Linked DNA regions of Homo sapiens: regions 1 and 3 are each linked to region 2. The links are contacts of gene promoters, found by promoter capture Hi-C in human tissues and cell types (Jung and others, 2019). All regions are on one chromosome and are shown on one strand. Each heading gives the region's core, a stretch centred on a gene start or on the middle of the fragment in contact. The rest is flanking DNA. Distances are from core to core; before and after follow the strand shown. Region 1 overlaps TMEM132D (transmembrane protein 132D). Region 2 holds the start of TMEM132D (transmembrane protein 132D). Region 3 has its middle 110 kb from the start of TMEM132D-AS1.

Region 1 (3,002 bases), core at 326-2,825, 580 kb before region 2:
GCGCGATCTCAGCTCACTGCAAGCTCCACCTCCCAGGTTCACGCCATTCTCCTGCTTCAGCCTCCCCCGACTAGCTGGGACTACAGGCGCCCGCCACCACGCCCAGCTAATTTTTTTGTATTTTTAGTAGAGACGGGGTTTCACCGTGTTAGCCAGGGTGGTCTCGATCTCCTGACCTCGTGATCCACCCGCCTCGGCCTCCCAAAGTGCTGGGATTACAGGCGTGAGCCACTGCACCCGGCCGAGGCAGACCTTTTCAGTCCATCCATGCGTGGGACGAATGTTTCCTTCCTGCTCTTTGTCGGACACACAGATATGTCTATGTCTTTTGCTGCATTGGCACTGTATATTCTTACTAGTATAGTTCCATGCTTAAATCCTGGTGGTGTAAAAGCATCAGTGCTGGAGTCAGACATCCATTTTAGTCATGTGACTTCCAGTAAGTTATTTTCTTTCCACCAGCCTTAATTTTCTCATCTGCAAAATAGCCACGATGGCCATTTCTCTTGATGGTAGAGCATTGATACAATGACCTTTTCAATCTATCCATACGTGGGACGAATGTTTCCTTCCTGGTTTTTGTCGGACACACAGACATGTCTATGCCTTTTGCTGCATTGGCCCTGTATATTCTTACTAATATAGTTCCATGCTTAAATCCTGGTGATGTAAAAGCATCAGTTTTGGAGCCAGACATCCATGTTACTCATGTGACTTCCAGTAACTTATTTTCTTTCCACCAGCCTTAATTTTCTCATCTGCAAAATGGCCATGCCATGATGGCCATTTCTCTTGATGGTAGAGCATTGATACAATGTTTTGTGAAGAGGCTGCATGGTGTGAACCAGGTAGCAACATGCAACAACTGTCCAGACACTTAATAAAGAAGACATTCCGTTTATTTTGTAGAGCTGAATCGTTTCTCGGTGGTTGAATTGCATGTTTATTACTATCTCCCAATTTTATTACTACAAGGCAAATTCCTTTAAATCCAGGAAGGATTTTTTTCTAGAAAGATATGGGTTCTAGGTTCCATCATTACACCAAGGTTGTTACACTAGAAGGCTAAATTTGCCACCTGTTTGATATCTTAGGAAAGAATTTAACTTTTCTGTTTTTCAAAGATGAATCTGTTGCATACAGTAAGAGGTGTGTAATACTTAATACTCTCACATTAAGTAAAATAATTAACTGGCTAGTCACACACATTTTCAAAATGGGAATGACAGATTTAATAGATAGGACTCTCAGATCTCTGTTAACATGCTTTGCAAAATCCTTTCCTTAATCATTGCATTGCTTTTCCATATGTTGTCTTATTATACTTGCATATAACTGCAAATTCATGAGGACGAATAGGCTCCATTTCCATTTAAAAATTGTCAGGAAAATAGATCTGCGTGGAACCATACAGTGCAGTTTAAGTATTTCCTTCCAGTTTGTTGCTGACAGGTTTAGGAAAAATAAGTTCTGTAAAAAGTCACTTTGAACTGTAACTACCATATCCCTTAGGTAGTAATTTTAAAGAATTCTACTGCAGGGAGGCCTTTCTGTTGTTTAATGATACAGCTACCCATAAGGCATTAAAATGTCCCTTCTTCCCATTCCTATTTACCTTACTCGTGTTTTTACAATTTAAAAAAAAAGCGTAAATAGCAACTTTTCCCATCTTTTCTGATCTAGGCATAATATTCTCTGATGCACACCATCGTTTCATTAGAGAAATTGATATAAATCCACCTGCTATAGCCTTGGGGATTAACACCAAACTCTGTGAACATGCTGCAAAGAGAAAAACAAACAGAAAAAAAATATCTAGCATTAGATGAATTAACAAACCAAAAAACCACTGCTGGTGAACCGAAGAAAATTAAATTGATTCTGAAGAAAAGTGCTGATTCTTTAGGAAAATGTGATTAGAGGTAGCCTGGCCTGGAGCTTAAGATTGTCAAAAAACACTGTTACATGTTTGTCAAATCCTTTTTGATGGGAAGTTCACAGGTTATAAAAAAAATACATTTCAAAGCTTTAAATCTTAGCTGAAGCCTAATCCTCAATGTTGCATATCACCAACCAAGCACTTTGATTTAGGTATCAATGACCAGCTACACTGGACAGGTATGCTGGCTTCATTCAGGGTCACAGTGCTAGCCATGTCATCTTGAAGGCAGGAGTCATCTCTTCCCTGTCTAGCCACGTGTGTTTCATTAATGAGGAATAGTGGGTAGGTCCTTTCTTCACATGCCTCTCTATTATTTTGATTTTTCAAGCACATTTTCTATAGGAAGTAGGTTTTATTTTTTTTTTTTGAAGGTTTTAAGATTTGTTTTGTAAATAAATGGAAAAGCAGTTACCTCCTTCACCCAAAATTCCATATAACCATATCTGTCCTGTGATTTTTTGGCTGAGGATTTTCTTTTTTTCAAACTTCATGTGTTTCCCAGCTTCTGCTCCTTTCTATTGGAAGCCTGAATTTATCCAAGTATCCATCTTTTACTGACTGCATTTACAGGAAGCTGATCTTAGTGAGTTATGGTGATACTGTCCCCATGGTTATGATGAGTTTAGGAAGTCTGTCTTAGCCTGGCCTGGGTATCTGGTGATTGTTACCAGTTTAGGGTAGGTTGATGGCCTAATTGGACACAGTCTGACTGTTCGCATAACCAAGCGAATCCAGTCTTAAACAGTGGACCAATACATTCTGATTTCTGCATAAACCAGTTTGGTTTGAATTTGAAAAGGTCCTAACAGATGCAGCATTTTGCCATTTGGTGCCTGCCTGATAGAAGAGTTTAGACTCCACACACACAACACAGCTATTATTACTTACTATGTAAAATATCATAGATTTATTTAGTCTTTTCATCCCTAGAGGACATTCAACGTTACTTTTACCTTAATTTCTTGAAAAACTTGCAGAAGAAAAAAGTGATGGTCAGGGGCAGTGGCTCACACCTGTAATCCCAGCCCTTTGGGAGGCAGAGGTGGGTGGATCACGAGGT
Region 2 (2,840 bases), core at 215-2,714:
GACACATGGCTTCAAGTCAGGGCTCCGCTGGGAAAATTCGGGTCACAACTTGTAGCTGAAACTCCACGTGCACCCTGCGGGGCCGCTGCTGCTCCCAGCACCCTACGGAAGGGTGAGCGCCAGACCCTGTGCCCAAACCTCACAGCGGCAGACCTGGAGAAACCCATCCCCCTTCTTCAGAGCCGCCCCCCAGGCTATATTTTTGGCAGCCTATAATACACAAAATAGTATTCCCATACAACAGGAGTGCTCCAAAATTATTTCCAAATAGGTCAGTGCCACCAGGGAAAGTCAATCCCAAATTCCAGAAATCTCCCTGGTCATCTCAATCCCCTCCTCCCCCGACAGCCGGCTCGGCCCTCCAGAGGCCACCTTTCCTCTCAAGGGTCCCCACGCCCTCTCCCTTTACAGAAAAGGCTTTCAGGAAACAGCCTTCCTTTCCTTTCGGCTCCTTAGTAGTCTCACCTAAGGCCTCCCACCCAAGTGCTCCAGGACAAGCACCTTCGGCCAAGGGGCGTCCGAGGAGCTTGGCTGCCGCACGAGCGCACGTTCACACGCGCGCACACACACATGCACACAAGCGCGCACACACACTTGCACACGAGCCCTCTCTCCCGGCCGCCCCCATCCTCCACACACTCCCACACACTCACTCCAGGCGAAGTTAGTCCCCGGGCCCTGGCGGCCGCGGCGTCCTCACCTTTGGAAAACAGGGCGGCCAGGCTGATGAGTACCGGCGACCAGTGGTGCCACAGCGTCCCCATCTCAGACGGGCACATCCTGGAGACCCGGAGCGCAGATCCTCCGCTCCCCGGCGCCGTCCAGGCGAACAAGAGACCGTCTCAGTCCCCTAGAGGCCCGCAGCGGGGCCGGTGGCGAGGGAGCGCCCGGCTAGGGGCCCGAGCAGCCCGGGCGCCCTGCTCCCTCTTCCCGCCAGTCCATGGCCAGGCCGGGAGGCGACGACCGCGCGGGCTCCTGAGTTGCTCTCCGGAGTCCAACACGCGCGCAGGCAAACCCCACCTCCCTCCTTCGACCCCAACAGAATTTTTTTTAAATTTTAATCCACAGGGGGTATTTCCTTTCCTGTTTACCCGAGCGAAGAGTGGCCCCCGGTGGCCCAAGGAGGGGCGCCTCCAGGCGCAGGGCTCCGGCGGCTCCAGCTGCTCCCGGGCTGGCTAGCGGGCGCTGGCGCAGGCGGCGCCGGGGTGGCGGGGCTGCGGAGCCCGGGACGCGGGCAGAGGCGGCTCGGAGCCCCCCGGGCGGGTGGCCGGGCTCGCTGGGCGGCCCGGGGCTCCCTGGCCCGCAGCCCCCATCCCAGGCCGGCCGCTGCGCCTCGGGGCTCGGGCGCGCGCGCGCTCCGGCACCCAAAGTTTGGCGGGTGCGGCTGCTCCCCGGCCGCCGCCTCGGCCCGCCCGGCCCCGGGCCCGGCTGGGGCTCGCGGGGCTCTACGCGCGCCGAGCGCACTGCAGGCTCCGGAGACGCGGGGCTCCCCCCTGCGCCCGGGGGAGGCGGGCCAGATGTGCGCGGAGGAGGGCCCGCCGGCTCGGGGACGCGGCCGAGCAACGCAGCTGCCTCCTGCCAGCAGGCGCGGGGGCTCCGCTCCGCAAGGACCGCATCCGGAACGGAACGGAGGCGATCGCCACGGTGCCCGGAGCCGGCTGGGGCTTTCGCCTTAAAAATTTGTCTGCTTTTAAAAAGCCCCACCCTTTCGGAGTGACAGCTGTGAGCCCCAATCCGCAAAGTAAATCCCACCTCCCCCTGGCCGCCCCACGCCCAGCCTCCCGGCCACCCTCCCTGCGAGCGCGGACGCGCGGTGGCGGCGGGCGAGGGCTCCCAGCGCGGGCGCACCCCGGGGACGGAGCCACCCACTCTCCCAACAGGTGTCCAGCTGGCCACCGGCCTCTCGTCGTCATCAAAACCTCAGGCCCAGGGGAGGTCCTCCAGCCCGGGGGCACCTGAGGCTCTTCGCCAGGGAGAGCGCAAGGATGGCTGGAGAAGGGCCCTCGCCCCGCCCTGCGCATCTCCCAGGGATCGCAGTGAGGAAGTCTCTGACACGCCACACTGAGGTCATGCTGGCCCCAAGCCCCTTCCCAGAGCGATCCCCCAAGTTAGTGTCCCTAGAAACATGTCGTGTGCTCCCCAGGGCTCACTGGGAAAGGAAATGGATCCATTAGGAGACAACATTGCTTTGAGAAGATAAAAGACATGATTCTCAACACCGCCCGGAATCTCCAACTAAGACATTCCCACACCAAGATCCCTAAGCACCGTCCTGTAATTTGTAGCCCAAGAACTGCTTTGCTCCACGAGAGCCTTTAAATTAACCCCATCAAAGCTCAGAGGGAAGAAAAGCATTCAGAATTTTTAAGGAATATTGTAAACCAACAAGCCCTGAATCTAATGAGGTGAATTCACCTCAGTAGATAAAAATGGGTCGTTATCATCTGACTGAGGGGGCAATGGACTTTTTTATCCTGTATGCCTGTAGTTGCAGAAATATACCAATGCTTTAAGAGTTTTTAGCTTTCAAAGTTTCAAGGAAGATCAAAAAAGCCACTGCTGTTCTACCGAAGATTGTTTTTCTGGGTTCATGTCCTTTGAGATGTGCTCTTGTCTTTTATTCTGTATCTACTTATCTGAATATATCTGTCTTTCTGTTTTTTCTTTTGTTTGTTTCTTAAACTTGTTGCCTTTTCTCTTTGTATTGCTCTCCTGTAAAATTCCTAAGAGTCGACGCTGCAAAGACCCTAAGAGATTGTCTCTTTCACTGTTTCTGAAGTTTGAACCAGCAGGAGAGTCACTGGAAAATTTGTTAGACCTGGGTTGCTGGGCCCACCCCA
Region 3 (3,007 bases), core at 142-2,641, 900 kb before region 2:
ACCCCACAGTCTGGTGGCTGGAATCTGAAATCAGGGATGGCCAGGGCTGTGCTCCCTTCAGAGGCTCTAGGGGAGGCTCCCTCCTGCCTCTTCTAGCTCCTGCTGACTCCAGATGTTCTTTGGCCTGAGGCCGCATTGCTACTATCTCTGCTTCTGTGTTCACGTGGCCTCCTCCCTGTGTCTCTCTGTCTTCTCCTCTTCTCTCTCTTGTCAGGATCCTCATTCTCAGCCTTAGGACCAAATCCAGGATGACCTCATCTCAAGATCCTCACCTTGGCTGGGTGCAGTGGCTCACGCCTGTAATCCCAGCACTATGGGAGGCTGAGGTTGATCACTTGAGGCCAGGAGTTCGAGACCAGCCTGGTCAACATGGGGAAACCCTGTCCCTACTAAAAATACAAAAATTAGTCTGGCATGGTGGTGGGTGCCTGTAATCCCAGCTACTCCGGAGGTTGAGGCATGATAATTTCTTGAACCCAGGAGGCGGAGGTTGCAGTGAGCTGAGATCGTGCCATTGCACTCCAGCCTGGGTGACAGAGCAAGACTCTGTCTCAAAAAAAAAATTCTTGCCTTCATTATATTTGCAAAGATACGTGCTCCAGATAAGATCTCATGCTTAGGTTTTGGGTAGACATATCTTTGGAGGGCCACGATTCAACCCACTACACCAGTGCAGATACATTTTAGCCAAGCTAAGACCATCCATTTATGTGCCAACCCAGGACCTCCATGTTTCCAGAATAAAATGTGCATGTCACCCTCCAGAGCTTCTCAACGCACCTGGGCCCCCTGCACGAATAAGCTGTCCACTATGTGGATTGCTTAGGCAATTAGCCACTGCTATAGCAGGGGTGGGGGCGAGAGGATGGGAAGCGGGGACATTTTACACCGAATACTGATGAAATCAGTCAGAGCATTTGCTCTCTGCCCTGTGGAATTAGAAGGCAGGTTGGTGGAAGAAAGGAAGACATCAAAGTGCCGGCTAAAGACGCAAACACCTTAAAATCACCAAGCTCTCACGTGCTGCTAGAGGGATTGTCATTGGTAGTTTGGCACAAGCTTTCTTTAGAACTACTTGGTATATATATATATATATATACATATATATATATATACATATATATATATATATACACACATACACACACATATATATATTTTATATTTATTATATAGAATAGGTAAACATGTATATATATTTATTGAAATGATGCATACATATGCATAAACCAGAGCTTGTAGTGGTATGCACGTGTGTATTTGGGTGATAAGGTTATGAGTAATTTTTATTTTCTTATGCATTTTTTTTGTAGTTTTTCAGGTTTTCCAAAGTGAGCATTTTTTGGTAGATTAAAACATGATATTTTAAAATGAATTAAGGGAATGAAGCAGAAAACATAATTACTAAGTTCTGACTCATCCCTCAGTGACTGTGTCTCTGGTTCCTACCAGGTCCAAATGCCAACAGGAGGGGCGAATGTGTCATTTCTGGAGTGAACTAGCTGAAGGCATGGCATAACATGAAGGGCACCTTTCCATCTTCTTCCCCGGCGTCTCACTGGAGATATTTCATCCTAAAACCTCATGAAATCTTGATCCAAAGCTCAAAACATGTGTTGTGTAGGTATTTCCTGGGCTTCTGGCTTAAGGCTGTGTTTTGGTCTTCTAGCCAGTACTTAATGAAATGGCAGAAAGAAAGAGTTGGACATAAAGGTCGGGCACACTTCAAATACAGTGCTCCAGGATTAAACGTTGAAATGTTCATTTCATACACAGACGGGCACATGACTTTAATCTGTGAGGGTTTTAAGAGGGAGATCGGGAGTAACCTCCCACTCAAATATGGCATGGTGTTTAACGGATCAATATGGCCATTGCAGTTCTTAACTCAGTTGAAATTAGCTGTTTTGCGGCTGTCAGTGTATCAGCCATGCCAAGTTTTTTGAAGGCCCTACAGAGTGAAATCCTGACATTCGGTGGCGAGTGTACTCAGCAGATTAATTGCAGCGATTTGGGATGCCAGCTTTAATTCAGAGTCAACCCGAGTGATCTAAAGACATAATGGCCAGCCTGAGAGTCCCAAATTAACCAAATGTGAATTACTTCTGAGCTCTCAGAGCTAAACTTGCCTTTTCTTGTTTAACAACCTCAGTTACTGAAATTTGAAAATCTCTCAAGAGAGGACTTTATTTTTTGCCGATGGAAGGTGGCAATGCTGAATTACTTGGGAAAAGGAAAACAGCTCTCTTTCTCTATGAGCAATTTATAACTCAAGTCAATTCAAAACATGTAATTAACAGCCCATTCTAATTGGAAGCGAAAGCATAATCCATCTTTGGATGTTCCTGTTCTTCCTCCGCTGGCTGAATCTTCACTGGTGAGCAATGAAGCTCACTGGCAAGGCTGCAGTCAAGGGAGGTCTTCTTGGTTCATCTTTTTCGTCTCTAACATTTCTGTGGAAAAAATAAAGAAACAGTTTGTCACAAGCGATGGAGGCTTCCATGTGGAAATCAACTATTTAATGCCTCAGTGGGAACTGAGAATTTTTCATTAACTTGTCCGGTGTAATTTCATCATTCCAGGAAGTATCCCTCTTTCTCCTGTTCTTTCAGGTCAGATGCAAAGTCACGAGAAAGTCAACAGCTCTATCTGGTGTCCTGCTGAGTGGCCGGGCAGCTTTCTTGGCGTGAACTCTGAGCATTCGTTGTCTCCTGCTTTGGTCTTGGTTGACTTGTCGGTGTTTTCATGGTTTGTTCTTTCCCAGGGAGGTGGGTTATTATCCCCAGGCCCATTCCACCTCTCCAGCGCCCATCCTTTCTGATCTCATGCATGCTTGCCTCAGAAGGGTTCACTCCTCCAGTCATTTGTTTATTTAACAGCTTTTGAGCACCTATTATGCATCAAATGCACTTCTGCACATTAAGGAATCTGACATCAAGAAACGCAGGCTCCCTGTCCTCATGGGGGGTTGTGTTTTAACAGGTAGAGTCGAACTATGAACCGGTAA

Evidence for each region. The method cuts DNA at HindIII sites, captures the fragments that hold promoters and counts their contacts. A contact is called where the count stands out against the background at its distance.
Region 1: a contact is called between a fragment that was not itself captured here and the fragment with the promoter of TMEM132D in region 2, in 2 of the 25 tissues and cell types used here (lymphoblastoid cells and mesendoderm cells).
Region 3: a contact is called between a fragment that was not itself captured here and the fragment with the promoter of TMEM132D in region 2, in 2 of the 25 tissues and cell types used here (H1 embryonic stem cells and dorsolateral prefrontal cortex).

Annotation. Positions count from the first base shown.
Region 1 is chr12:129,321,616-129,324,617 of GRCh38, forward strand. All of the region lies in intron 4 of TMEM132D (transmembrane protein 132D), which reads right to left. Among named protein-coding and RNA genes, the nearest start is that of TMEM132D-AS2, 110 kb to the left of the region's middle. The HindIII fragment of the contact is 7,193 bases long and covers 1-3,002 here.
Region 2 is chr12:129,902,561-129,905,400 of GRCh38, forward strand. TMEM132D (transmembrane protein 132D) reads right to left here and starts at 1,465. Exons shown (of 9, transcript NM_133448.3): 1 at 701-1,465. The coding sequence starts at 779. The HindIII fragment of the contact is 10,076 bases long and covers 1-2,840 here.
Region 3 is chr12:128,999,945-129,002,951 of GRCh38, forward strand. No RefSeq gene overlaps it. Among named protein-coding and RNA genes, the nearest start is that of TMEM132D-AS1, 110 kb to the right of the region's middle. The HindIII fragment of the contact is 5,326 bases long and covers 1-3,007 here.